Regions from separate parts of the Homo sapiens genome. Here regions 2, 3, 4, 5, 6 and 7 are each linked to region 1. Evidence: promoter capture Hi-C in 16 types of primary human blood cells and fetal thymus (Javierre and others, 2016). All regions are on one chromosome and are shown on one strand. The core of a region is centred on a gene start or on the middle of the fragment in contact, and the rest is flanking DNA. Distances in the headings are between cores, read along the strand shown. Region 1 holds the start of ZNF227 (zinc finger protein 227). Region 2 holds the start of ZFP82 (ZFP82 zinc finger protein). Region 3 overlaps ZNF566 (zinc finger protein 566). Region 4 overlaps ZNF260 (zinc finger protein 260). Region 5 holds the start of ZNF649 (zinc finger protein 649). Region 6 overlaps ZNF577 (zinc finger protein 577). Region 7 overlaps ZNF382 (zinc finger protein 382).

What was found. Contacts are between HindIII fragments. The CHiCAGO score rates a contact against its expected background, and 5 or more counts as called.
Region 2: the fragment with the promoter of ZFP82 here is called in contact with the fragment with the promoter of ZNF227 in region 1 in 7 of 17 cell types (non-activated CD4 T cells, total CD4 T cells, activated CD4 T cells and 4 more); the score reaches 21.3 in non-activated CD4 T cells.
Region 3: a contact is called between a fragment that was not itself captured here and the fragment with the promoter of ZNF227 in region 1, in 2 of 17 cell types (naive CD8 T cells and naive CD4 T cells). The highest score is 12.9, in naive CD8 T cells.
Region 4: a fragment that was not itself captured here is called in contact with the fragment with the promoter of ZNF227 in region 1 in 2 of 17 cell types (non-activated CD4 T cells and total B cells); the score reaches 9.6 in non-activated CD4 T cells.
Region 5: the fragment with the promoter of ZNF649 here is called in contact with the fragment with the promoter of ZNF227 in region 1 in 7 of 17 cell types (total CD8 T cells, naive CD4 T cells, total CD4 T cells and 4 more); the score reaches 17.8 in total CD8 T cells.
Region 6: a contact is called between a fragment that was not itself captured here and the fragment with the promoter of ZNF227 in region 1, in 1 of 17 cell types (total CD4 T cells). The highest score is 7.0, in total CD4 T cells.
Region 7: a fragment that was not itself captured here is called in contact with the fragment with the promoter of ZNF227 in region 1 in 1 of 17 cell types (non-activated CD4 T cells); the score reaches 6.6 in non-activated CD4 T cells.

The regions. Positions count from the first base shown.
Region 1 is chr19:44,210,861-44,214,997 of GRCh38, reverse strand. ZNF227 (zinc finger protein 227) reads right to left here and starts at 2,466. Exons shown (of 6, transcript NM_182490.3): 1 at 2,413-2,466; 2 at 1,754-1,908. The HindIII fragment of the contact is 5,683 bases long and covers 1-3,390 here.
Region 2 is chr19:36,416,774-36,420,910 of GRCh38, reverse strand. ZFP82 (ZFP82 zinc finger protein) reads left to right here and starts at 2,267. Exons shown (of 5, transcript NM_133466.4): 1 at 2,267-2,419. RefSeq lists an enhancer at 2,739-2,898. The HindIII fragment of the contact is 3,270 bases long and covers 1,506-4,137 here.
Region 3 is chr19:36,480,699-36,484,835 of GRCh38, reverse strand. The region is part of intron 1 of ZNF566 (zinc finger protein 566); the gene reads left to right. Among named protein-coding and RNA genes, the nearest start is that of ZNF566, 6.8 kb to the left of the region's middle. The HindIII fragment of the contact is 921 bases long and covers 1,324-2,244 here.
Region 4 is chr19:36,517,701-36,521,837 of GRCh38, reverse strand. The region is part of intron 2 of ZNF260 (zinc finger protein 260); the gene reads left to right. Among named protein-coding and RNA genes, the nearest start is that of ZNF260, 8.5 kb to the left of the region's middle. The HindIII fragment of the contact is 642 bases long and covers 2,001-2,642 here.
Region 5 is chr19:51,902,622-51,906,758 of GRCh38, reverse strand. ZNF649 (zinc finger protein 649) reads left to right here and starts at 1,742. Exons shown (of 5, transcript NM_023074.4): 1 at 1,742-1,845. RefSeq lists enhancers at 476-1,100, 1,591-1,710, 1,429-1,973, 3,064-3,609. The HindIII fragment of the contact is 3,228 bases long and covers 391-3,618 here.
Region 6 is chr19:51,882,545-51,886,681 of GRCh38, reverse strand. All of the region lies in intron 1 of ZNF577 (zinc finger protein 577), which reads left to right. Among named protein-coding and RNA genes, the nearest start is that of ZNF577, 3.3 kb to the left of the region's middle. The HindIII fragment of the contact is 7,920 bases long and covers 1-4,137 here.
Region 7 is chr19:36,609,644-36,613,780 of GRCh38, reverse strand. It overlaps ZNF382 (zinc finger protein 382), which reads right to left. Exons shown (of 5, transcript NM_032825.5): 3 at 3,728-3,879; 4 at 3,039-3,131. The coding sequence starts at 3,866. Among named protein-coding and RNA genes, the nearest start is that of ZNF382, 6.4 kb to the right of the region's middle. The HindIII fragment of the contact is 5,848 bases long and covers 1-4,137 here.

The DNA.
Region 1 (4,137 bases), core at 1,217-3,716:
ACAACCTAGATCCTTCACATGTGCAGTCCCTCCTATGAGAATCTAATGCCCCTGCTGATCTGGCAGGAGGCAGAGCTCAGGCGGTACCCCTCCAATCACCTCCTTCTGTGCTGTCAGGTTCCTAACAGGCCACAGACTAGTACCAGGTCCGCTGCCCAGAAGTTGGGACTCCTGCTTTAAGACACTCTAATTTAAAAAAAAAAAAAAAAGTGGGGTGGAAGGAGGAGGAGATGGTCTGCAGCAAATGTTGAACCTGAGTGTTGGTTACGTGGAATTCACTGCACCACTCTTTTGACAGTTGAATATGCTTGAAATTTTTCGGCTGGGCGCAGTGGCTCACGCCGGTAATCCCAGCACTTTGGGAGGCCGAGGTGGGCGGATTACCTGAGGTCAAGAGTTCAAGATTAGCCTGGGTAACACGGTGAAACCCCGTCTCTACTAAAAATACAAAAATTAGCTGGGAGTGATGGCGCACACCTGTAACCCAGTTACTCGGGAGCTTGATGCAGGAGAATCACTTGAACCTGGGAGGTGGAGGTTGCAGTGAGCTGAGATCACGCCACTGCACTCCAGCCTGGGCAACAAGAGTGAATCTCCATCTCACAAAAAAAAAGAAAAAAAAAGAAAAAAGAAAATTTTCATAATAAGAAAAAAACTACTACACAGAATACCAAACCTATTTTGAGAAACATCCATAGCATATACTAAAGGGAAACACATTAAAGTGTTAGCAGTTTTATTATAAGTAATTTAAGTTTTCTGAATATAACATCACTGTCCAATAGAAATATACTGAGACACATAAATAATTTTAAATTTTCTAGCAGTAACATATAAAAAAGGCAAAAAAACAAAAACAAAAATAGGTGAAGTTAATTTCAACAACATAATTTAAGCCAATGTATCCAAAATATTACCATTTTGACATATAATACAAAAAATTATCAATGAGCCATCTTACATTTTTTGTACAAAGTTTTTGAAATCCAGTGTGTATTTAACACTTACAGCACATCTCAATTTGGACTAGACACATTTCAAGTGCTCCTAGGGCACACATGGCTTATAGCTACTGGATTGGATAGTGCATCTCTATAATGAGCATTCATTACTTCTATAACTAGAATATGACATATTTTGACATGGAATGAAATTAAGTAAGTGAGATGTTGCAGGATTTTTCTAAAAAATTCAAAATTCATCAGTGCAGTTTTTGAGGTCTTCCACAGTAAAATCCATACCTACATTCCCAAGGCTGATTTCCAACGACTCACCGGTAGCCATATGGATTACTATTTAAGATAACTGAAGACGACTGTATCATTGAGATTAAGACCACAGACTCAGAAAAAGGAATAGAAAATAAACAACAACAAAAACCAAAGAAACAAAAACAAACAAAAAAGATCACACAGTCTGAAAAGGAATGCTTGGGTTCAATCCCAAATCCACCTCTTACTATCAGTTGAATAACTTCGGGAAAGTATTTAATAACATAAACTCTGCCTAATTTCCTCATAACAAAATAACAAGACCTACTTCATCAATAGCTATGGTCCACAGACGAATGCCTTAAAATCAAAGTGGTAAGATGTTATTGGTAATACTCATTTCCAAGTAGTTTTCCTACCCACTCTCACATTTATTCAACAAATATTTCATCATTTTTCAGTAGTAACTTACTGAGTGACGGAAACTTGATTAACTGAAAGGACAGAAAATGGAACAACAAAGTGCGTTCAAGAGCAGGTACCTGGGGCTATGCTGGGAGAAGCCAAGAAGTCCCTCCTTCCTCCTCTTTGCAAATTCGGAGGCGGTGAATAAAAGGATGCTGTCAGCACGATGGAGTCTCTATCCCGGATAAACGGCGGTAAACATCCCCACGCATTGGAGCCCGATGACTCAATCCTTCTTAAAAAAAAAAAAGATCTGTAAAAGTTCGGGAAGAGCTCGGTCTCCTGAAGGATACGACAGAAAGGCCATGGCATAAAGCCCTGACTTTTCTTCTCTCTTCACTGGAGCTTCCAGTAAAAAGGGCGCTTGTGAGGGAATCACTGTATCAATAGCAGGAGCCAACCCAGTATCAGGTGCCACCACTGTTCTAAGGTTTGACCCGTATTATCTTGTTTAATTCTAATTACAACCCTACACAGTAACGACTATCTTTATTGCTATTTTAAAGATGAGGAAACAGGAGCGCGGATCATAGGTAACTCGCTGTTTATTATACCCACAGAACTAGCGGCGCTGCTTGCCAAGTGCGGGAGGAGAGCAAACTTCCCGCCCTCGGCCTCTCGGCCTCCGCCGCGGCCGCGACCTCTCCATCCCAAGACTGATGGCTGGGGAGCGCCTATTCCCAAGCACAGGCTGAAAAGGTTCAAGAGGGGTCGTGGGGGTGCAGGGCTGACTCACCTCCCGGACCCAAAAGATGGTGGCGGCCTCGCTTTCCGGGGCGGAAGTGGCTCTGCCTGCCCAGAGCTCCTGAACTACCCTTCCCAGAAGGCCCGCGCTCCTGCGGCCCAATTGTTTCCGGACAGAGTTCTGGAATACGTTTCCCAGAACTTCCAGAAGGAAAAACCATCCAGGTGCCGCCCTCTTCGCGCTTGAAAAAAAAAAAAACAAAAAAAAAAACGGAGCGAGCGAGTGAGAGAGGGTTACGGAGAGTGTGACAAAATTCTCGGAGCTCCCGGACTACAACATCCAGAATCCTCTTCACGGCTTATTGCTGTTTAGCCAGGCTGAAGCAGTTCTCTGATGTCAGTGGAATTTAGGTTTTTCTTATTAACAAAAAGTAACAGCAAATATGTGAAGAATTGGAGCCCTAAAATAAAAAAAGACTCCCAGCACTTTGGGAGGCCGAGGCGGGCGGATCACGAGGTCAGGAGTTCCAGACCAGCTTGGCCAATATGATGAAGCCCCGTCTCTACTAAAAATATAAAAATTAGCCGGGCGTGGTGGCGCGCGCCTGTAGTCCCAGCTACTTGGGAGGCTGAGGCATAAGAATCGCTTGAACCCTGGAGGGTGCAGTGAGCCAAGATCGTGCCACTGCACTCCAGCCTGGGCGACAGAGTGAGACTCTGTCTCAAAAAAAAAAAAAAGAAAAAAAAAACTATTATAAGAAACAGATCACGTGATCCTGTACTAATAGAATTATACCCACCACTTCCAAAAAAAAAAAAAAAAAGGGCAGAGGAAACCCTTTAAGTTTTTACATTTAACAGGATCGACTAATAGAAAAACTACTCTTTAGATACTAAAAGAATGAAAGAGCAATCAAAAAATGCAACGAAGGCAGAATATATTATGGATTTCCACTTTTCTTAATAGCACAGTCATATAATTCAGAACAACTTGCTTACTGAGGATAGCTAGACATAGAAAACACAAGCTTTGGCATATGGTAGATCAACTCCACAAAGCAACTAGGGCCTCTGTAATCATTCCTCAAGGAGTTTCTGAATTTGAAAGATGAACAAATTTATTACTTCAGTGTTTAAACCTTGATCTTTATTTGCTTAAATGTATAATGGAATTGATGTTTCCAAGAATTGAGGGTTGAAAGAAGAGAGCAATACCTAAAAATATCCACATATCTACTACAGTACATGTTTGCAGTTCTCATTTACTAAATATATATTCTTTATTCTGTTATATACAACTATCTCTTATAAAGAACCAAGTATGTGCCAGGAACTAGTTCAAACTATTCAGACTATGGGACCCTCACTACATTTTCACAACTTTTTTCTTTTTTTTTTTGTTCTGTTTTGTTGTTGTTGTTGTTGTTGTTGTTGTTAGACAGAGTTTGGCTCTTTTGCCCAGGCTGGAGTGAAGTGGCATGACCTCGGCTCATTGCAACCTCCGCCCTCACACAAGGTTCAAGCAAGTCTCCTGCCTCAGCCTCCCAAGTCGCTGGGGTTATAGGCACCCCCCTCCCCACCACGCCCAGCTAATTTTTGTATTTTTAGTAGAGACGGGGTTTTGCCATCTTGGCCAGGCTAGTCTTGAATTCCTGACCTCAGGTGATCCACCCGCCCCGGCCTCCCAAAGTGCTAGGATTACAGGCATGAGCCACCACACTTAGCCCATTTTCACAACTTTTTTAAAACAAATAATGTCCTCTAGTTTACTCTTTGG
Region 2 (4,137 bases), core at 1,018-3,517, 7.8 Mb after region 1:
GTGCTTGTCCTTTTTGTGTCTGTTGGTAGAAAAAGAATAAACATTAAACTCAGCTTAGTATTTCCAAAGTAGTAAGAAACACTTTTGCACATAAGGATACTTTGGGAAACCTTGTTTCCCCCACTGTCTTTACACTGAGTGAGTAACAAGGCTCTGTAAAGACGCAGGGGAATTGGTCACTAGCAGGCAAGGCAGACATCAAGCACTGTAAGAAATCAGAGACTGACTTCAAAGAAAACTCAGCGTTTACTGATAAATTGTGTTATATTACCCCATCAATGGCTAGCCTTCATGCCATGAAAATGCATCCATGTTAATGATGTCACTGTCTTACCTAACTGCAGGTGACAGCTGCCATGACATAGAAATGACATTGAACTTAAGGAAAACACTATACTGTTGCAAAATCCTTGTTAAAACCAAACATCTTAAATGCATTTGAAGCAGCGTGTCTAAGCCACGTAAAATCAAACCCTTGATAGTTATTAGCTGGCCTTCTTCTATAAAGAAAGCTTTCTTTTTTCTTTGTGCTTATTTAATGGGGTACAATCAATTATAGACATAATTGGTGGCACAGGGAAAATAATTATTTCAAGTAGTTTTTAAACACTAGCTGTATAACTAAGAGGGACATATAAAAACAGGGATTGGCAAACTTTTTCTTTAAAGGGCCTGATAGTAAATACAGTCAATCTTCATTCACAGATTCTGAATTTGTGAATTCATCTACTTGCTAAAACTTTTTTATAAACCCAGAGTCAATATTTGCAGCACCTTTGTGGTCATTTGTGGACATCCGAAGAGCGGTGAACCTTTTTGAGTCCCTTAACAGGCATGTTCTCAGCCAAAGTCAAACAAAGTGACCCTCTATCTTCTTATTTCAGCTCTCATACTGTAAACAGGTACCCTTTTTGCAGTCCATTTAGTACCTTGGCTTCTCATATTTTTGTTTTTTGCTGGTGATTTTGCTGTTTCAAAGGGACCCCAAATGTAGTAGTACTAAAGTGCTGTTGATGTTCCTATGAATGAGAAAGCGGTCATGTGTCTTACAGAAAAAATACATGTGTTAGATAAGCTTCATTCAGGCATGAGTTATGGAGCTGTTGGCCATGAGTTCAATGTTAATGAATCAATAATATATATTAAAGTGTTTAAATAGAAACACAATAAGGCCAGGCGCGGTGGCTCATGCCTATAATCCCAGCACTTTTGGGAGGCCAAGGCGGGTGGATCACCTGAGGTCAGGAGTTTGAGACCAGCCTGGTCAACATGGTGAAACTCCGTTTCTACAAAATACAAAAATCAGCTGGGCATGGTGACATGCATCTGTATTCCCAGCTACTCTGGGGGCTGAGGCAGGAGAATTGCTGGAACCCGGGAGGCGGAGGAGGTTGCAGTGAGCCAAGATCCCACCACTGCACTCCAGCCTGGGTGACAGAGCAAGACCCTATCTCAAAAAAAAAAAAAAAAAAGAAAAAAAGAAAATAAACACAATAAAATAAGCTTATGCATTCATCGGTTGACTAAAATGTGACCAGATGCTTACAGGAAACTAACCCTGTATTTCCCCTAGAAGCAGTGGAATGGTATTCACTAATTCCGTGTTTGTAGCAAGTTTATAGACCATAACTACTGTGAATAGTGAGAACTGACTGTATTTTAGGCTGCGTGGGCCATCTGGTCTGTGTAACTACTCGAGTCTGTCCTTGTAGCTCAAATATAGCAATAGACAGTACACAATCAAACACGGCTATGTTCCAATAAAACTTTTATTTATGGACACTGAAATTTGACATGTATGATTTTCATATTTCACAAAATATTGTTCTCCTTTTCATTGTTTTTACCATTTAAAAATACAGAAATGGAAAATATAGGAACTGGCTTCCCCGAATCTCCGGAGTCACACGGTCTCAAATCCCAACAGCCACACCCAGTGAAAGAATCCCACCCAGGAGCGCGCCAGGGACAGACTCGCAGCGCCGTCCTCGCTCACAGGGCTCCCTAGTTGGCACTATAGAGAGGCGGTCGCGGGCGCCCCTCTTTAACGCGCCAGCCATCTGTCCCCGCTCCCCTCCAGGCCCTGCCGCGCCGTCCCCAGGCGCTAAGGGACTCGAAGCGCAGCCTCGCTGGGACGGACCTAGCTCCGGCTCCGGGTTCACGCAGAGCAGGGGCTGCACCAGCGAGCGGACCCTTGAGACTGGCCGCGCCTGCGCACTCCGTGAGCGCGCCCGGCCCTCCCAGCAGCCTCCGCGCGCAGCCCGTTAGGCCCCGGGGATTGTGGCGTGACCCGGCAGCGGCTTCCTCCGTTCGGGCATCGCTGTGCCTCGGGTTCGCGCCCCGAGTGAGCAGTCCTGGCCCGGAGCGTCGGTCCTGGTAATCTGTAGGAAAAGCGCTGCGGCCCAGGGGGTAAAGAGAGGTAAGCGGGGCCACTGCAGTATCGCAGAGGGGCGGGAGCCCGCGCCTCAGGCCCGGGTGTGTGTGTCGTGGGCGTGACGGGGCCGGGGCTGGGACGTGACGGAGTCTGTGCGGCTGACTTGGGTGCAGAGACTATTGTATGAGCGAAGGTTGTTGTGGCCGTGGAGTGCGTGACTGACCCCAGCATCCTCTGCCCACACCGGGCCCAGCTGCAGAGAAATGGCCCTCGGTCAGTTTCTGCACGCCAAAGACTCCCAGCAGAAACGCGCAGACTAGGCCGGACCAGGTGGCTCACATCTGTAATCCCAGAGCTCTGGGAGAGCGAGGCGGGAGGATCGCTGGAAGCCAGGAGTTCGAGACCAGCCTGGGCAGCAAAGCGAAACTCCCATCTGTACCAGAAATTTAAAAAATGAGCCGGGTGTGATGGCGTGCTCCTGTGGTCCCAGCCACTCGAGAGGCTGAGGCGGGAGGATGGCTTGAGCCTAGGAGGAGATTGAGGCTGCAGCGAGCTATGATAGCACCACTACTCTCCAGCCTGGGCAACAGCGAAACAAGGCTCAGACCCGACCTTGGGATAGGAATATTAGAACTGAACGAGCCCCCGCTCCCGCCCAGGCTTGCTCCTGGAAGGGACTCCCACACCACCTCCTCGCGGACCCGGACCCACGCACGTGCACTCACAACTCTGAAGAGTCCAGCTGCAGGTTTCAGAACCACAGCATTGCTTCCAGGAAGCTATTGTGAACTCCAGTTCTAGCCCCGGGCATCCATGACCCTGGCCTTTCTTTGATACTGGGAAGAGTTAACAACACCATCTCTCTTATGTTACTCTGGTTATGTGTGGGTGGGCGGTGGGGGCATTGTGCCCTATGCGAGGCTGGGCTGCAAGAAAAGCCTGGTTCCCTTATTAGCCAGTCCTGCCCAATTCTTTAAGAAAAGGGGTCCGAGCGGGAGGAGGAATGAATTGCTGTTGCCTGTTTAAGTCAAGGTCGAGGCGAGTGGGTGTTTCTGCTTTCTTCTGTGAAATGCATTCTTATTTCTTAGGACATGAGAATATTTGTTTCATTCTCCATAAATGTCCTGTCCATTGAGCTGATACCTAGGTCCCCTCCCGAGAGCCTGTATGCACATACCCATTTGGTAGATGTTTTTCATTACTTCTGTGGGCCTTCTTTTAATTACTATGTGTAAAGTTCTTAGAACAGTTCCTGAGACCTCGTTAGTACTTAATAAACCTTAGTTATGTATTCTTAAGTAGTGATTTGGAGCAATTCTACATCAGCCTTCTATAGATGGGGGGAAAATGAAAATACTAAGCCAATTGTGGTGAGTATTTCCTAGTAAAAAATAAATGAGCCAGATCAGATGCTTAAATAGTCTAAAACAGGAATTCTTTTTTTTTTTTTTTTTTTTTTTTTTTGAGACAGGGTCTTGCTCTGTCACCCAGGTTGGAGTGCAGTGGCACAATCTCAGCTCACTGCAACCTCCCTTTCCGTGGTTCAAGCGATTCTTATACCTCAGCCTCCCAAGTAGCTGGGATTACAGGCCTGCACCACCACACCCAGCTAATTTTTGTATTTTTAGTACAGACCGGGTTTTACCATGTTGGCCAGGCTGGTCTCAAACTCCTGGCCTCAAGTGATCTGCCTGCCTCGGCCTCCCAAAGTGCTGGAATGACAGGCATGAGCCACCGCCCCCAGCCTAGAACAGGAATTCTTT
Region 3 (4,137 bases), core at 535-3,034, 7.7 Mb after region 1:
GGGCGGATCACAAGGTCAGGAGATCAAGACCATCCTGGCTAACACGGTGAAACCCCATCTCTACTAAAAATACAAAAAATTAGCTGGGCATGGTGGTGGGCACCTGTAGTCCCAGCTATTCGGGAGGCTCTGGCAGGAGAATGGCGTTAACCCGGGAGGTGGAGTTTGCAGTGAGCTGAGATCGCGCCACTGCACCCCAGCCTGGGTGACAGAGCGAGACTCCATCTCAAAAAAAAAAAAAAAAAAAAGAAACTATGCCAAAATCCTATTTCTCATCATGTTTTCTCACGCATTAGTTTTAACATTCATTGATAATTTTTACCTGTAACAATTATTACTGTGATGTTTGCCTAGCGGTGATTTTCTCCTTCTATCATTTCTTACACTTTGATAATTTAAATTCTACTATAAGGAAGAGCTGTCTCTTCTTGCTCCTGTTAAAAGTGAACTAAATGTGGCCTGAGAAGGACTTTGTACTTCTATATTTGAGTCCTTATGGACGAACTGTAACCTAACAGGTAGACAGAATTGGAAACCTAACTTGTGTGCCTGTAACAGTGTATGTGCCTGTAACAAGCTGAGTCTTGGCTAATCCCAGCAGCAATACTTCAACCACTCATACACTGCTGAGTGTTCAAACTGTGTTAAGTAAGGCAAACACTGTCTGGGCACAGAGGCTGGCGCCTGTAATCTCAGCACATTGGGAAGCCGAGGCAGGCGGATCACCTGAGGTCAGGAGTTGGAGACCAGCCTGACCAACATGGTGAAACCCCATTTCTACTAAAAATACAAAAAATTAGCCAGGTGTGGTGGAGTGCACCTGTAATCCCAGCTACTCAGGAGGCTGACACAGGAGAATTGCAGTGAGCTGAGATCGTGCCATTGCACTCTAGCTTAGGCAACAAGAGCAAAACTCCGTCTCAAAAAAAAAAGGCAAACAAGAACTTGTAACCAGTTGAGCTGTTTCTCCACCTCACTTCTGATTTTTGTATGTCACTTCCCTTTTTTTTGTCTATAAATTTGTTCTGACCACGAGGCATCCCTGGAGTGTCTCTGAATCTGCCGTGATTCTGGGGGCTGCCTGATTTGCGAATCGTTCATTGTTCAATGAAACTCCTTTACATTTAATTCAGCTGAAGTTTTTCTTTTGTCCCCATTTGTTTATTCAATTATTTACCTATGGACTCATGGATATTTATTTTATTCTATTCTCTATTATTATTATTTATTTATTTTGCTGTTCAAATTTTCCCATATTTGGCCATCAGAAGCTCCTTAAGTTGGCTCTTGTGTCTTTTCAACGTGTGATCATTTTTTAAAGCTTCCCCCCAACCCCGCTTTCTGGGACATAAGATGTTCCAGGTTCATCTTGTATTTTCCCTCTTCCATCTCTGGGCTCAGCAATTTCTCCAAGCAGCATTAATTTCTTTTATTGGAGAATGAATTTATAAACCAAGATCTGGGCACTTGGTGTGCTTATTGCTACTGGTGTGTCTTTGCTCTGGTTCTGGTCAGTGGAGAGAGTGAGAAAATACACAAATGTCTACATGCACATTTATGTCTATTTATTTGTTTATATGTTAAAAACACACCAGTTTACACTCATATGTTTAATTCTATTCCAGTACCACAGGGTATTTTCTTTTCCCAAGAACTATGAACTATCTGAGATTTTACCCTAGTTGTAAGCTAGTAAGTTGGCTTGTCAGTTTCACAGATACGTTCAGAAAACATGAGACTTCTGAGTCTGAGACAAAGGATGCTTTGTTGCTCATGGCAATCTTCAGAATATCTACATTCTCATGGTACTGATTCAGTCATACACCCAGGATTATGCAAAATACACAGGTATCTGTGTGTTCCCTTGACCTTAGGAAACCTGAATTTTTTATAATGGATAGTTAGAATGCCTACCCTTTGCTGTAGAAGGAGACCGACTCTGTCTTCCAAGGCTGTTCACTGTATAAACAACTTGGTAAAATAGTGCAGAACAAAAACACTTAGTACCTCTTCTTGCAAGATACGCAGAAACATGCAAGACCCATGGAGAATTGTCTCCCATCAAATTTGGCCATTTCCTTGTTACTTCATTTTCCAACAGAGAGAAACCTGCTTCTCAGAATCAATAATTAGCTCTATCCTAGAATACATGCAAATTAGTTCAGAGTTGCCAACCTGGACCTGTGTAAAAAGTATTTAGTAACTACAGTAGAGAATCTCTGTGTAGCTCTTTTTCTTTAAGCTTATAGTATATAGTAAACAAACATCTTCCAAAGTTACTCAATTTAGTTCTTTTCTTTGCCACTCTTTTCAGTATGTTTTTTTTTTTTCTTACATTTTTCTTACATTTAAGGATCATTTGTTGCATTTTGGGTTCCCCCACATCCTGGTTGATTGTAGCAGGCTACACTATTTTGAATGTGAAAACATTCGCAGGGGACAGTGGCTCACTCCTGTAATCCCAACACTTTGGGAGGCCGAGGCCGGCGAATCACGAGGTCAGGAGATCAAGACCATCCTGGCTAACACGGTGAAACCCCGTCTCTACTAAAAATACAAAAAATTAGCCGGGCGTGGTGGCGGGCGCCTGTAGTCCCAGCTACTGGAGAGGCTGAGGCAGGAGAATGGCGTGAACCTGGGAGGCGGAGCTTGCAGTGAGCCGAGATCGCGCCACTGCACTCCAGCCTGGGCGACAGAGCGAGACTCCGTCTCAAAATAAATAAATAAATAAATAAAAATTAACTTAGTTCCCACAGACTCCTTGTATATATTCAACTTCATTCGTTTCTGCTTTATCCTTGCTGTGTTTCTTTTGCACAAATGAAGAGTTACCTATATTCTTTTTACATTAAAGATAGCATTCTCTAGGCACTCTTTTGTACATTGTTTCTTTCTCTTAATGATACATTCTGGATAACACTCAGGCAGTTAAAGAGATATTCATAATTCTTTTCTAATTGTTACATAATACTGCAGCCTGTGGATTTATCATAGTTTATTGAACCGCTTTCCTACGTATGGATATTTAGGTCATTTACAATATTTTGTTACTAGAAACAGTGCTGCAATAACCTTGTATATATGTATTTTTCTATTGCTGGAGGAGTATCTTTAGGGTAGATTCCTAGAAGCGGTATTGCTGGGTCAAAAGGTAAGTGCTTTGTAGTTTTGTTAAGTATTGCAAAATTCCTCTCTAGAACTGTTGTACCAGTTTTTATTCCTACTTGCTGTGTATGAGCATGTCTGTTTCCCTTCACAGCCCACCTAACAGAATATGTTGTCATGTTTTTTAGTTTTCACCAGTCTAATAGATGAGAAATAGTACCTCAGTGTTCTTTTCTTTTTTTTTTTTTTTTTTTTTTCCCGAGACAGTGTCTTGCTCTGTTGCCGGGGCTGGAGTGCAGTGGCGCGATCTCGGCTCACTGCAACCTCCGCCTCCTGGGTTCAAGTGATTCTCCTGCCTCAGCCTCCTGAGTAGCTGGGACTACAGGCGCGTGCCGCCACGCCCAGCTAATTTTTGTATTTTTGGTAGAGATGGGGTTCCACCATGTTGGCCAGGCTGGTCCCAAATTCCTGACCTCAGGTGATCCACCAGACTCGGCCTCCCAAAGTGCTGAGATTACAGGTATGAGCCCCTGTGCCCAGCCCTCATTGTTGTTTTCTTATTTCTCTCATTATGAGTGTGTTTGAACATTTCAGAGTCTTTTAAAAGATTGCCTGTTTATGTCTTTCCCCATTTTTGTAGCAGATATTTATTTAGTACTTTGTCTTTTATGACTAGTGCTTTTTTTTGAAACGAAGTCTCACTCTTGTTGCCCAGGCCGGAGTTCAGTGGTGTGATCTCAGCTTACTGCAACCTCTGTCTCCTGGGTTCAAGCGATTTTCCTGCCTCAGCCTCCTGAGTAGCTGGGATTACAGGCGTCTGCCACCATGCCCGGCTAATTTTTTTTGTATTTTTAGTAGAGACAGCATTTCAACATGTTGGCCAGGCTGGTCTCGAACTCCTGACCTCAGGTGTTCCGCCTGCCTTGGTGGGCCTTGGCCTCCCAAAGTGCTGGGATTACAGGCATAAGCCACCACGCCTGGCCCCGAAGCTTTTAAACATTCACATTCACACTTAAGTCTGTGATCCCTCTT
Region 4 (4,137 bases), core at 1,072-3,571, 7.7 Mb after region 1:
GACCTTGTGATCTGCCTGCCTCCACCTCCCAAAGTGCTGGGATTACAGGCGTGAGCCACCGCACCCGGCCTTATTTTATTTTTTTAGACAGAGTCTTGCTGTGTCACTCAGGCTGGAGTGCAGTGGCACAATCTTGGCTCACTACAATGTCTGCCTCCCGGGTTCAAGCGATTCTTTTGCCTCAGCCTCCTGAGTAGCTGGAATTTACAGATGCCCACCACCATGCCTGGCTAATTTTTGTATTTTTAGTAGAGACAGAGTTTCACCATGTTGGCCAGACTGGTCTCGAACTCCTGACCTCAGGTGATCTGCCTGCCTCATCCTCCCCAAGTGCTGGGATTACAGGCGTGTGCCACTGCACCTGGTCCTGAGAATATTTTTTAAACCATGGGATAAATGTTGAAAGAACCATTTTACTTGTTGTTCTGATTATGTTTTCTAGTTCAGTTCAGCATTGTCATTTACAGTGTTAAAAATTCAATTCTGATAAGTGTGTGAAGGATGTAGGGTTTTAATTACAAAGGAGATGTAATTTTTAATTTTCTTTTGGATTGTTTGGAATATAGTAGCATAAGTCCTGATCTGTTATGCATCATACCAATTTTCATGAATTTTTTAAAAGTAAGTGGAAAACAAAATAAATAATACCATTATCTAATCAAAGTTTAGTAAAATTCACATGCTAAGCCATCCATGCCTTGGGCTTTAAGGGGCAAGAGCTCTATTTTTTCCTTCTTTCTTTCTTTTTTTTTTTTTTGAGACAAGGTCTTACTCTGTCTCCCAGGCTGGAGTGCAGTGGCATGATCACAGCTCACTGCAGCCTTGAACTCCTGACTCAAGTAATCCTCCTACCTCAACCTTCTGAGCAGCTGGGACTACAGGCACCTGCCACTACGCCCACCTAATTTTTAAATTGTTTGTAGAGACAGGGTCTCACGGTGTTGGCCAGGCTGGTCCTTTTTTTTTTTTTTTTTTTTTGAGACGGAATCTCGCTCTGTCACCCAGGCTGGGGTGCAGTGGGGCGATCTCAGCTCACTGCAACCTCTGCCTCCCAGGTTCAAGTAATTCTTCTGCCTCAGCCTCCAGAGTAGCTGGGACTACAGGCGCCCGCCACCACGCCTAGCTAATTTTTTTTGTTTTTGTCTTTTTAGTACAGACGGGGTTTCACCATGTTAGCCAGAGTGGTCTCGATCTCCTGACCTTGTGATCTGCCTGCCTTGGCCTCCCAAAGTGCTGGTCTTGAACTGCTGGGCTCAAATGATCCACCTGCCTTAGCCTTCTAAAGTTCTGGGATTACAGGCGTGAGCCACCACACCCAGCCCTATTTTGTACTATGTTTATGTTTCTGTTTAGGTTTTCTGTCTTTTCTGGTTTCAGTTCGCATCGGTTATACTTGCTAAGTTTTCTATTTGCATGGGGTTTAACAAAATAGTCTGTACTATCCATATTTTCTATCTATAGTTATTTCCAAATATCTTTTTCTTTTTTACTCTTACTTCTTTTAAGTTTTTCCTTAAGAATCCACTCATGAATTTATTATTTCTCTTTTTCTGTTTGTAATACATTAATTTCTTTTTCCTATTTTTACTAATTTTCTGTTTTTCTTTCCTTTTTCTTTCTTTCTTTTTTTTTTTTTTTTGAGACAGAGTCTCACTCTGTTGCCCAGGCTGGAGTGCAGTGGCACAATATTGGTTCACTGCAACTTCCTCCTCCTGGGTTCAAGCATTTCTCCTGCCTCAGCCTCCCGAGTAGCTGGGATTACAGGCGCACACCACCACACCCGGCTAATTTTGTATTTTTAGTAGAGATGGGGTTTCTCCATGTTGGCCAGGCTGGTCTCGAACTCCTAACCTCAAGTGATCTGCCCACCTCGGCCTCCCAAAGTGCTGGGATTACAGGCGTGAGTCACCACACCCGGTCTGTTTTTCTTATATTTACTTTTTCTTATGTTAATTACTTTGAGTGCTTATTTTATTACTTTTTTTAAAATGATGTAAGCTTTTATGCTAAAACTTCATTCTCCAAGCATTAATTTTCCCTGGCCAAAGGGTTTGTTCAAACCAATAGATTTTGAAATTTACAAGTGAAAGGTTTTGTTTTTGTTCTGTCATTTCTATGTGTTGGGTTTTTTGTTTTTTTGGTCAGAGTATTTTGTCCATCCTTTACTACTTTGTGGAACAGGCTACTGTATGGGCTGATTTTCAGAATGTTCTTTGGGCATTTAAAAAGGTGGTTTATAATCTATTTTCAAGATATAGGATAAACTGATTAATAAAATATGTTATAAATGTGTATACATTTTTCTTTTTATTTATATTGTATTTTATGGATTTGAATTCAGAGGTTGAGAGTGGTTGTTTTCTCAGTTACTAACGGGGTTCTGAAATGTTACCCCCAGTATGTTATACCCATACTTCCCCTTCTGACTTCTGATACTAGTAAGATCACTGCTTTTTTATTAAAGCATTTGTAAGCATTTACGTAACTATAACACTGTAAGCATTGTTGACTGGTAAACCAAATGATTTTCTATGACTCTGTTTGATTTCTTGTATAACCTTTTGCTTTTCTTTTAATTAATATTTGCTTCTTTGTTTTGTTTGCTTAGTTTTCCATTTTTGTGTTTTGATTCTTCCCAAGCTTTCAGACAGAACTGTAAAACCTAGAAGTCTAAGTTGGAAGTAACTTATGGTTAGGATTATCCATTGTCTTGCAATCTGATGCCTTTTTGATGTGGTATGTCTTTTTCTTTTATTTCCTTTTATAGGATAAATGTTTTGGAACATTTAGGATTTTTTTTTTTTGTTAAGACAAGGTCTCACTCTTGCCCAAGCCGGAGTTCAGTAGGGTAATCATAGCTCACTCTCCTGGGCTCAAGCCATCGTACCATCTCAGCCTCCCCAAGTAGAAGGGAGTACATGTATATGCCACCACACCCAGATAATCTTTTTTATTTTTAGTAGAGACAAGATCACACTGTGTTGCACAGGCCGGTCTCAAACTAGGATCCTCTTTTTATCCCTAGGTGAAATTTTGTATTGATGTGCTTTCGCCGCTATCTTTTTAAATGGAATGTTCTTTGTACTCAATGGGCCTGCTAAGTATGTGGACTCATGATTTGTAATTCTGGGAAGTGTTCTTTATTAGCTCTTTGAAAATGTCCTGTATTCATTTTTCTTCATACTTTCTTTGGAACTTCTTTAGTAGATGCTGATCCTTCCAGATTCTTCCACTAACCCACTAAATGTTCCAACCATTACACTCTTTCTTTCTGCCTTCCTCCATTCTTCCTTTTTTTATTCTAGGAGATTTTCTAGACTTTCTTTCCCCAACATACTGAATTTTTAAGATCAATTTCATATTGTTTATTTCTAAAAACACCTCTTTATAGAACACTGTTAATATTTCATTGCAGTGATAATAGTAATCTCCTAACTTTCCATGATATTAATTGTAGTATTATATGGGTGAGTTTTTCTGCTCTTTGCCTTGTATTTTGTTTGATCTGCCTTTGATGTTAGGACTTTCATCAAATGTTTTCTGATCTTTAGCTCTATATTAATTTGTGTATGTAAGCGGGGCTTATGAAATGGTGGTTTTCACTGTGCATCAATCAGTAATATAGATGTGTTTCGTTAGATGATTCCAAATGTTAGCATCTGTAGGTGTTCTCATGGTCTTCTCATTTTTTCAGAAAATAATTCTTCCGGGCCGGGTGCGGTGGCTCATGGCTGTATTCCCAGCACTTTGGGAGGCCAAGGCGGGTGGATCATGAGGTCAGGAGTTCAAGACCAGCCTGGCCAACATGGTGAAGCCCCGTCTCTAACTAAAAATACAAAAATTAGCCGAGCGTGGTGGCGGGCACCTGTAATCCCAGCTACTCGGGAGGCTGATGCCGGAGAATCCCTTCACCCGGGAGGCAGAGGTTGCAGTGAGCCGAGATCGCACTGCACTCCAGCCTGGGCAACAGAGCGAGACTCCGTCCCAAAAAAAAAAAAAGAAAGAAAGAAAAAAGAAAATAATTCTTCCATCATCTGACAGCTAGTAACCACCAGCATTCTCGGACTCTAACAGTAGAAGAGCCTCTGTTATGTGTATAAACTTTTACTCATTCTTCTCTTACTAGGATGCTCTCAT
Region 5 (4,137 bases), core at 493-2,992, 7.7 Mb before region 1:
GCCATGGCTTCAGCCGGTCCCTCCGTTTGGGGTCCCTGACTTCCCGCAACAGCCTTGGTTGCATTTGAGCCTCTGAATATCTGTGTGGTTTGTGCAGTGAAGGGGTGGCCTGCCTCTCCACATCTGTGGGTGTTTCTCGTCAGGTGGGACGAGAGACTGAGAAAAGAAGAGATACAGAGACAAAGTATAGAGAAAGAAAAGTGGGTCCAGGGGACCGGTGCTCAGCATACAGAGGACCCGCGCCGGCACCGGTCTCTGAGTCCCTCAGTATTTATTGATCATTATCTCTACCATCTCGGAGAGGGGGATGTGGCAGGACAATAGGATAATAGTGGGGAGAGTGTCAGCAGGAAAACATGTGAACAAATGTCTCTGTGTCATAAACAAGCTTAAGAAGAAGGTGCTGTGCTTTGATATGCACATACATAAACGTCTCGGTGCATTAAAGAGCAGTATTGCCGCCAGCTTGTCTCACCTCCAGCCCTAAGGCGATTTTCTCCTATCTCAGTAGATGGAACATACAATCGGGTTTTATACCGAGACATTCCATTGCCCAGGGACGAGCAGGAGACAGATGCCTTCCTCTTGTCTCAACTGCAAGAGGCCTTCCTTCCTCTTATACTAATCCTCCTCAGCACAGACCCTTTACGGGTGTCGGGCTGAGGGATGGTCAGGTCTTTCCCTTCCCACGAGGCCATATTTCAGACTATCACATGGGGAGAAACCTTGGATAATACCTGGCTTTCTGGGGCAGAGGTCCCTGTGGCCTTCCGCAGTGTATTGTGTCCCTGGGTACTTGAGATTAGAGAGTGGTGATGACTTTTAACAAGCATACTGCCTTCAAGCATTTGTTTAACAAAGCACATCCTGCATAGCCCTAAATCCATTAAACCTTGAGTCAACACAGCACACGTCTCTGTGAGAACAGGGTTGGGGGTAGGGTTACAGATTAACAGCATCTCAAGGCAGAAGAATTTTTCTTAGTACGGAACAAAATGGAGTCTCTTATGTCTACTTCTTTCTACATAGACACAGTAACAGTCTGATCTCTCTTTCTTTTCCCCACAGTGCACTGTTGTTAGTGCTCCAACCTCACAGTGCAGGGGTTGAGGTGTCAGGAGAGGGAACACATCAGTGCCATTTCACTGTCTCCTGTGTCAAAGCAAAATTAAAATGCAGACCAGAATTCAAAAACTCCTGAGCAAACAAAACCCAGTAGGCCTTAAAAACAGCCTTAACCTTGCTTAACCTGCAAACATAAGCAACAATTCACTTGAGTCATTTCTGGTAAATGCTTGTGTTAGGGAAGGACAAAACTCAATCTCAACCGATCAAAAGTAGGCAACTCACATGCTATTATGTCATTAGGGACTTTCCAAGGCAAATTTAAAAAAATGCATTTTTATAATTGTAACTAATCAAATAATTTCTTTGTTTTACTCCTTCACTCACCCTGTGAATACTTGTGTCTAATGCTTTAAGCATAGAAGCGCGAGACTTCTTTTGGTTTGATGCTTCCTAATTCATGAATTGCTGTTTGTTCAGATAAACTCTAGAAAATGCTCCTGCGCCTCAAATTTTTGCTTTCAGGAGAGTCATCCCGGTTTAATGACACAAGAACAACTGTTTCCCTTCTGTACGGCAGATCTACCAAGATGGCCGCGCCCAGAGAGCCGTGGCTCAGGGCGCGGACATGTTACCTCCTCGAAGAGAAGCCCATGTCCCATCGTCCTAGCGCGGCAGAATTGACTCGCGCCCTCGTCCGCCGCCATAGGCCAGTGCCGGGGTTTAAGGGCCAGGAAAGGAAGCATTCAGGGAATTTAGGTGTAGCCAGAAGAAAATCAGGTGAGTGTTTGGGTCTCTCCGTGGAGTAGGTTAAAGGGGTAGGGAGCTTCTGAGGAGCCTGTGGGGAGAGCTGGCGGCCTGGGCGGTGGAGCCTTTGGGTTGGGGTGCCTTTGCGGTCCGGCGTGGGAGAGTTCTTGTGGTCGGGCGTTAAAGGTCTGTCGAGTTCAGCGACTGAGACTCGGCGTCAGAGTTTGGGGTCTCTGAGGGTCACTCTGTTAGTAGGCCTCTGGATCACTGGATGGAGAACTCTAGGGGGACGCTGCCCAGCACGCCGGCTTTATCACCGACGCCATTATTATCACTCCAAATGCTGCAGTTTAAAGTCGGTGATGAAGCCGGGGTGCTGGGCAGCGTACGAGGGTGTGTGGTGTAGGTTTTGGGGTGAATCGGGGATGTGTGTTAAGTGTTTCGGGGAGGCCCAGGCATGTGGGGCTCAGAGGCTTGTAAAATCTGGTATTTTACAAGCCCAGGCCCCTGGCTGGGGTTGAGTTGTGAAACTATAACCGCCCACCCTTGCCGGCTGCCTAGACAGAGCCGACTTGTTAAGACAGGGAAATTGCAATGGAGAAAGAGCAATTCATGCAGAGCCGGCTGTGCGGGGAGACCGGAGTTTTATTATTACTCAAATCAGTGATAAAAGAAAAATTGAAGCCGAATTAAATTTACAGGAGTTTCCTTGAGCAATGAACGATTCGCGAATTGGGCAGCCCCCAGAATCACAGCAGATTAACAGAGACTCCAGGGGTGCCTCGTGGTCAGAACAAATTTATAGACAAAAAAGGTAAAGTGACATACAGGAATCGGAAGCGAGGTCCAGAAACAGTGAGATTGGTTACCATTCGGCGTTTGCCTTATTTGAACGCAGTTGGAACATTCAGCAGTCTATGAGTATGGCCGCTGGGACTGGCCACCACTCAGCTATTGTTACAGGTGCATACGATTAAGTTCGGTTTTCAATTTTGTCTGTTAAGCTAGGTTGCAGTTTATCCACAAGGACTCAAATATAGAAGTATGGAGTCGTTCTCAGGCAATATTTAGTTTGCTTAAGCATCAGTCTCCTTGAGCATTTGGGGATCAAAGTTTCCTCCTATCCCCCAGACGGAATCTAGCTCTGTTGTCCAGTCTGGAGTGCAGTGGTGCGATCTCAGCTCACTGCAACCTCCGCCTCCTGGGTTCTAGCGACTGTCCTGCCTCAGCCTCCCGAGTGGCTGGGATTACAGGCGCCCGCCACCACGCCCGGCTAATTTTTGTATTTTTAGTAGAGACAGGCTTTCACCACGTTGGCCAGGCTGGTCTTGAACTCCTGACCTCAGGTGATCTGCCCGCCTCGGCCTTCCAAAGTGCTGGGATTATAGGCATGAGCCATCGCGCCTAGCTATGATTGTTACGATTTATAAGAAATGTATAATCGATCTTTGTCCTGTTTCCTGGCACATGTCTCCCAAAAGCCTTGGAACCTCTTCAGTAAACAGTGCCTTTTTGTGTGGCATTGAGATGGCTGGTGACTGGGGGCTTCTGGCTGGCCTTAGGACGGGGGAGGCTGGTTGCCAGGGCAACTAACCATGTCATTTGAGGGTTGGAAATTTTAGCTCTGCCTGGCAACAGGGAAGTTGAAGGTTGAGTTGATCACCAGTGGTTAGTGTTTTAATCAAGTATGCCCACATAATGAAACCAGCGTAAAAACTCAAAAGGACTGGTGAACTTCTGGGGAACTTACAGATTCTTGAGCATGTGGAGGTGCCTGAGGGTGGTGAACTGAGTCTCTAATAAGCTTCCGTGGAGGGCATGGAAGTCCCACGCCCCTTGCTACAAACCTTGCTCTGTGCTATCCCTTCCATCTGCCTCTTCATCTGTATCCTTCGTAATATCCTTTATTCCTTTTCCCATTTGCCCTGAGAATACTCACCTTTGGTGCTTGCAGCTGGAGCATTTACCCCGAGATAACTTTGCCATGAACGATCTCACTTTTATTATTTTCACATCGCTCTAGTAGGTCGCCTTGGGAAACAAAAGACATCATTCTACTTATAGCATTCTGTTTTTAGTAGTGGTATTTCCATTTACAAAATGTAGTAGTTCTCGATCACTGAAAATGTCAAATCCTAGAAAACGTAGCATTCCTACATGTGATGTTAACATCATTCTCAAACAGTTCTTGGCTGAAGACTCACTGGATGGATCCGATTTTTACCAAATCGAGAATTCTGATGATTCCAAATCGAGAATTCTGATGATTCAGATGATTCTGATGTTAGTTCTGTTTAGAAATAACTCCTAGAACAGCTTTTATAT
Region 6 (4,137 bases), core at 849-3,348, 7.7 Mb before region 1:
TCTGAATAAATAATTACTGTGATTTATCAAGTTTTTATTTCTCTTTCCTAAGGGCTTTTGACCATTACAATTATTTTCATTTATTTTTTTCTCTTTAAAATTTTCTTTGATTTGTGTTGCTCTATTTCCCAATTTCATGTATTCCTGAGGGAATAAACCATACTTGTCAATAATGGTTTGTTCTTTTAATATGAGACTGGATTTTATTTGCTAAAATTTTATTTAATATTTTTGCATCAAAAAATGAAAAGATATCTTGGATTAGCTTCGGAATAATCCATAATCCATTGCTGGAGAGGGACTGAATGGTGGTATAGATAAAACAAAATTAGATGTGAGTTCGTCATTCTTGAAGTCACATGATGAATATGTGGAATTTGAGTATACTGTTCTTTTGCTTGAAATTTTTCATAGTAGAAAGTTAAAAAATTTTTTTGCCTATACATTTATAAGAGAAATTGGTCTCTTAAGTTTTTTTCAAGTGATTATACTTGAAAATCACCAGGTTAAAAAAATAGAATAATGTAGCATCCCAGAAGCCCTCATCTTCTCTCTCCTCTCCAAAGGTAATTATTATCTTAAAAACATCATAGATGTGCTTGGTTGTCATCTTTATATAAATGAAATCCTAAGGTACACATTCTTTTGTGGCTGGCTTCTTTTGCTTAATATTTTTGTTGTGAAAATCATCTAAGTTGCTGCATATAGCAGTAGCTCGTTTCTTTTTCATTACTGTGTAGTATTCCATTGATGATTATACCCCATATTATCCATTCCACTATCAAGAGACATTGTTATGGCTTATGGGAGTTATGAGTATTGTTGATATGAACGTTTTTCTACATGTCTTTTGGTGCATAAAAGTTCTATTGAGGGCTGGGCATGAGAGCTCACGCCTGTAATCCCAGCACTTTGGGAGGCTGAGGCGGATAGATCACCTGAGATCAGGAGTTCGAGACATCTGGCCAACATGATGAAACCCCATCCCTACTAAATACAAAAATTAGCAGGGCGTGGTAGCGGGTGTCTGTAATCCCAGCTACTCAGGAGGATGAGACAGGAGAATCACTTGAACCCAGGAGACAGAAGTTGCAGTGAGCTGGGATCATGCCATTGCACTCCAGCCTAGGCAACAAGAATGAAACTCCATCTCAAAAAAAAGTCAATAGAGCATATACTTAGTGTGTTAAGTATAGAGGAATGGAGTATGCTAGACACAAGGAGAAACCGCAAATGCCCAATCATAATGGGAAATTCTTAACATACTTCTCTCAGTAACTGAGAGAACAGGCAGACAAAAAGCTAAAAGGGTATAGATTAACCATTGCTGGCAAACTTTCTGTAAAGGTGCAGACAGATGACAAATATTTTAGTCTCTGCCGGCTAAATGGTCTTGTCTGCATCTACTAGGTTCTGCAATTATAGAATGAAAGTAGCTGTACAGAATGTGTAAACAAATGGGTGTGGCTGTGTTCTGATAAAACATTATTTACAAAAACATTCAGCTAACCCACAATAGTCCCAACCCCTGAAAGGTTAGAATGACATACCTAATTAACAAACTTGACCAATATAAAACACTGCACTCAATAATTTTCCTCAGATGCACATAGGACATTTATAAAAAGTCACCGTATGGTTGGCCATCAGGCAAGTCTAAATACATTTCAAATGATTAAAACCATATAGAATATTTTCTCTAACTATAGTGGAATTAAGCTATAAATCAATATCAAAATGATTTATTCACCATAGAATAGTCATGTGACTTTTTGGAACTATCAATTCAGAACATGCTGTTTTCTTGTCAGAATGATTGTTAATTATGCCATACGCTTCTAAATAATCTGAGTTCAAAAAATCACAGTGGAAATATTTTCAATTGCATTTTAATAAGAATTCTACATGTAAACCCTTGTTGAATTTAACCTAAGCAGTCAGTGGAGGAAATTTATAACCTTGAATGCAAGTATTAGAAAAGAAGGAAGGATGAAAATCAATGGAAAAGCACCTATCTCTATAATTCTTTTTTTTTTTATTCTATTGATTTGTGTTTGGAAATGCTGGTTTTATATAATTGTTAGAGAGGCTTCACTTTTTCTGTGATTGATGAATGTTACATAATATTGGAGTCATCTCTGTACTGTAAAGATTAGATAGAACTCATCAGGCTCTGATGACTCTAACTTTTTTTCATGGAAATTGAGTATAATATTTACCCATAACTTAGCTTCAATGGTTATCAATTCATATTCATCTGTCATATCAGTCATATTTATCTGTGCCTCCACTTTTGTTTTAGTCTGGAGACTTTCATAGCAAATCCAAGGCTTCATGCCTTGAAACTTGTACGTATCCCAGTATGAATCTCTAACCAGTAAGGTCATTAAAAAAATTTATAACCACTAGACCATTTCCTTTTTGTTTTTTCTTTTACAGACAGGATCTTGCTATGTTGCCCAGGCTGGTCTTGAACTCCTGGGCTCAAGCAGTCCTTCTGCCTCGGCTTCCCAAAGTGCTAGGATTACGGGTGTGAGCCACTTCACCCATCCTAGACCATTTTCAGTGTATCCAAGTTAATAATAATTTCTTTCCTTATCTTTTTGGGTGAGTGGACTCTCACTCTGTCACCGAGGCCGGACTGCAGTGGCGTTATCTTGGCTCACTGCAATTCCCACTTCCCAGGTTGAAGCAGTTCTCCTGCCTCAGCCTCCCGAGTAGCTGGGCTTACAGGCATCTGCCACCACACCAGGCTAATTTTTGTATTTTTTTGTAGAGATGGGGTTTCTTCCTGTTGGCCAGGCTGGTCTTGAACTCTTGACCTCAAGTGATCTGCCCATGTCGGCCTCCCAAAGTACTGGGGTTACAGGTGTGAGCCACTGTGCCCAGCCTATTTCTTTAGTTCATTGAATAGTTAGTCCACATTCAGTTTTTTTCTGATCATCTCATCATTGTCTTTTAACATTGGATTGTTTGAATCATGATCCAAATGATGTGGGTGCATTCGATTTGCTTGTTGTATCTCTTAGATCTCTTTAATTCTATAACAGCTCCCCCTTTTTTTTTCTTTGTTTTTTTTGCCCTCATGCCTCTTCATATGTTGCAGTAGGAAGTACACAGCACCATCCATGAAGGATTCTTACCTAAAAAAATTGAACATGGGACTAATCAAACCTCTAAGTTGAACTACTCACTTAATTAAAAGGAAAAACTGGGAGTTGGGTAGGTAGAGAACAACAAGTTAAACTATACCATGAGGCTGGGAGCAGTCGCTCATGCCTGTAATCCTAGCACTTTGGGAGGCTGAGGTGGGAGGATTGCTTGAGGCCAAGAGTTCAAGACCAACCTGGCCAACATAGCGAGACCTTGTCTCTATAAAAAAAAAAAATTTGGCCAGGCACAGTAGCTCACACCTGTAATCCCAGCACTTTGGGAGGCTGAGGCAGGTGGATCACAAGGTCAGGAGTTCAAGACCAGCCTGGCAAAGATGGTGAAGCCTCGTCTTTACTACAAATACAAAAATTAGCCGGGCGTGGTGGTGGGCACCTGTAATCCCAACTACTCAGGAGGCTGAGGCAGAGAATTGCTTGAACCCGGGAGGTGGAGGTTGCAGTGAGCTGAGATCGCGCTACTGCACTCTAGCCTGGCGACAGATTGAGACTCCTTCTCAAAAAAAAAAAAAAAAAAATTTTTTTTAAAAAGCCCACACAAAATGATACCCTGATACAGCAGTCAGCCATATCCAAAGGTAGGACATCATATGGGAGAAATCACCTGTTTCCTTCCTCCCTGCTTCATTCCTCCCAAAAGCAGATAAGGCTGAGGGCTTGTAATGGTTTGGAAGCATCCTAACTTTTATTTGAAGTGGAAGCCTTTTTTTTGCCTTTTGTTTTTTTTGAGACAGGATCTTGCTGTGTTGCCCAGGTTGGGGTGCAGTGATGCGGTCATAAACTCAATTCAGCCTGGAACTCCTGGGCTCAAGCGATCCTCCTGCCTCACCGTCCTAAGTACCTGGGACTACATGCATGCACCACCATGCCTGGCAAATTTTTAATTTTTTTTTGTAGAGACAAGGTCTTGGTATGTTGCCCAGGCTGGTTTTGAACTCCTGGCCTCAAGGAATTCTCCTGCCTTCAC
Region 7 (4,137 bases), core at 851-3,350, 7.6 Mb after region 1:
TGAGGTGGACCACAGAACTAATCTTAAAAAGCAAAATATACAGCCGGGCACAGTGGCTCATGCCTGTAATCCCAGCACTTTGGGAGGCTGAGGCAGGTGGATCACCTGAGGTCAGGAGTTCAAGACCAGCCTGACCAACAAGGATAAACCCCATCTCTACTAAAAATACAGAATTAGCGGGGCGTGGTGGTGCACGCCTATAATCCCAGCTACTCGGGAGGCTGAGGCAGGAGAATCGCTTGAACCTGGGAGGTGGAGGTTGCAGGGAAGCGGAGGTTGCGGTGAGTTGAGATCACACCATTGCGCTCCAGCCTGGGCAACAAGAGCGGAACTCTGTCTCAAAAAAAAAAAAAAAAAAGCAAAATATACAAAGAAATTACAGAGCACTATCCTCACCATACCTAGAAAAGAGAATTATCCTCACTATACCTAGAAAAAGACAAATATTTGTTTGAGAGGTCACATAATTAATGATAAAAGAAACAATGATTAAGTGAAATTCACCAAAGTTAAAAACTTCTGTTCATCAAAAGACACCATTAAAATGAATATGCAAGTCATAGACTAGGGAAAATATTTGTAATACATACATTGAACAAAAGATTTCTATCCACAGTATGTAAAGAATTCCTACTACTCAAGGAAAAATACATACTACCTAAATAAAAGATGGATAAAACATTTGAACAGGGCCAGGTGCAGTGGCTCACGCCTGTAATCCCAGCACTTTGGGAGGCCAAGGTGGGCGGATGACAAGGTCAGGAGTTTGAGACCAGCCTGGCCAAAATGATGAAACCCCGTCTCTACTAAAAATACAAAAAATTAGCTGGGTGTGGTGGCGCACGCCTGTAATCCCAGCTACTCGGGAGGCTGAGGCAGGAGAATTGCTTGAACCCGGGAGGCATAGGTTGCAGTGAGCCAAGATTGTGCTACTGCACTCCAGCCTGGGCGACAGAGTGAGACTCTGTCTCAAAAATTATCAAACAAACAAACGAACAAAGAAACAAACAAAACACTTGAACAGATGCCTCTGATATAAAATGCACTTGAAAAAGTTTTCAACATTATTAGTTGTAAGATAAATCTAAATTAAAACTGCGAAGTTATACAACCAGAATGGTCAAAATGACCAGAATGGACAAAATGAACATAAAATGTAGAAAAGAACGTGGGGCAATCAACATTCTCATACAGTGCTGATGAAAGTCTAAAATGGTATAGTAGTTTTAGCTACTAAACTACCAAACCAAAATGGTAGTTTCTAAAGAAATGAAATACGCATCTGCCTTATGAATCAGCGATATCGCTGCTACGTGTTTACTGAAGAAAAATAAACATGTATGTCCACAAAAATATTTTTACAAGAATGATTATAGCAGCTTTGTTCATAATAGGTCTAAACTAGAAACATCCCAAATGTCTTTCAACAAGAGATGCATAAACTGGTATACTCGTACAATGGAAAACTGTTCCACAGTTAACAAACTACTTATGCATGCAGAAACATGTATAAATCTCTCAGACATGAAGCTGAGTGAAAGAAAGCAGACATGAAAAAGGTTTGCAATAGACAAAATGAATCTATGTTGGTAGACATCACAACTGTGATTATCTTAATGGGAGGGACTGAGTTGGAAGAGGCCTGGTGGAACTTAATGGGTTAATGAAACTGTCTTTTATCTTGATTGGAGTGTGAGATACGTGGGTTTATCCTTCTGTCAGAATTCAAAGAACTTTACACTTTACATCTCTATGTACATTATACCTATAAAACATGGAATAGATTCTTGGTAAGGTAATAGCAGCAATATTTCCACAAACCCAGGCAAACAACGAAAAGATTTACATGGGGAGTGATATTCATACCTAAAATTTACATTTTAGAGGCATGAAAGTCAGCCATGTATAGGCACTTTACAGATCTCAGGTCTTTAAAAATAGATCACTAATAGGATGGATACTACGAAAATACAGAAAATAACAAGTGCTGGTGAAGAAATTGGAACCCTTGTACACTGTTGGTGGGAATGTAAAATGATGCAGCTGCTATAGAAAACAGTATGGTGACTCCTTAAATATAAACACAGAATTACCACATTATTCAGCAATTCCACTTCTGAGATTATACCCAAAAGAACTGAAAGCAGGGACTAAAACTGATATTTGTACACCCATGTTCATAGCAGCAATATTCACAATAGCCAAAAGATGGAAGGAACCCAACGGACCACTGACGGATGAATGAATAAGCAAAATATAGTATATACATACAACAGAATATTAATCAGCATTAAAAATGAAGGAAATAGATGAACCTGGAGGACATTACATTAAGTAAAATAAGCCAGTCAGAAAAAGGATAAATACTATGTGATTGCACTTACAAGAGGTACCTAGAGTAGTCAAATTTACAGAGACAGCAAGTAGAATGGTGGTTGGCATGGCTAGGGAGTAGGGATAAAGGGAAGTTATTTTTATTTATTTTTTTTTTGAGATGGAGTCTCGCTCTGTCGCCTAGGCTGGAGTGCAGTGGTGTGATCTTGGCTCACTGCAACCTCCGCCTCCCAGGTTCAAGCAATTCTCCTGCTTCAGCCTCCTGAGTAGCTGGGATTCCAGGTGTCCACCACCATGCCTGGCTAATTTTTTTGTATTTTTAGTAGAGACAGGGTTTCACTGTGTTAGCCAGAAATGGTCTCCATCTCCTGACCTCATGATCCACCCACCTTGGCCTTGGCTGTAATCCCAAAGTGCTGGGATTACAGGCGTGAGCCACCTCACCTGGCCAGGGGAAGTTATTGTTTCATGGGTACAGAGCTTCAGTTTTGCAAGATGAATAGTTCTGGAGATGGATGGTGGTGATGGTTGCACAACAGTGCGAATGTACTTGATGCTACTGAACTATATGCTTAAAAAGTTTAAGATAGCATATTTAATGTTATGTGTATTTTACCACAATAACAAAAATAGATCCCTAAAAACATTCAAAGGCTTCAACTACTTGACATTTAATGTTCACTAGACTTCATTTATAGACTCACCTAGGTAGCTGTAACTTGGAAAAATTCTCTGTGTCCATAGCTCTTCTCCTTGTTCCAACTTGCGGATCATATCAGGCTTAGCCATGTGAAACCCTGATGATGGAAAATGAGACTTTTGGTCTAAGCTGTTTCGACTTTAAAACTATTGAAGTAAGATAAAGATACAACTTCAAGGTAGTAAATGAGGTATACATTAATGTCTTACCAAAGTTAATACCTTACACTACACAAGTGATGATATAATCATATTTTCTTTTCTTTCTTTCCTTTTCTTTTCTTTTTTTTTTTTGAGACAGTCTCACTCTTTCACTCAGGCTGGAGTGCAGTGGTGCAATCTCAACTCACTGCAACCTCGTCTCCCAGGTTCAAGTGGTTCTCGTGCTTCAGCCTCCAGAGTAGCTGGGATTACAGGCATGTGCCACCACACCCAGCTAATTTTTGTACTTTTTAGTAGAGACTGGGTTTCACCATGTTGGCCAGGCTGGTCTTGAACTCCTGGCCTCAAGTGATCCACCTGCCTCGGCCTCCCAAAGTGCTGGGATTACAGGCGTGAGCCACTGTGCCTGGCAATATAATATTTTCTGCCAAAAAAATAATCACCTCTAATCCCTGAAATTCAAAGTCCTATATGTTTCAGGAATTCTTAGAAGGAGATGCATGACAGTGAAAGATTCAGGAGTGTTTCTTACCCACAGATACGAAGTGGCAATAGTTTTCCAACATCACATCCCTGTAAAGCGCCTTCTGAGCAGGGTCTAGTTGCTGCCACTCCTCCTGGGTGAAGTCCACAGTCACATCCTTGAATGACACTGATCCCTGTAAGGGCATACTCTAGTTCATCCTGAAGTGATCGGAAATGTGTGAGAACTAGATATTGGAGACCTAGTACTGACAATGTTTACTGGTCAGACTAGTTTCCTTATTTATGTTTTATATTGCATAAAATTCTCTCTGAAAATACATCCATTTGTATTTACTTATAATCTCATGCTAAACATACTGAGATCACACTATTTGTCCTGAATGTGACTGGTTGCCTGGTAGACCAAAATGAATAAAACCCTGACCCTGCTCATGAGAAGTTATAGGCTAAGAGAGG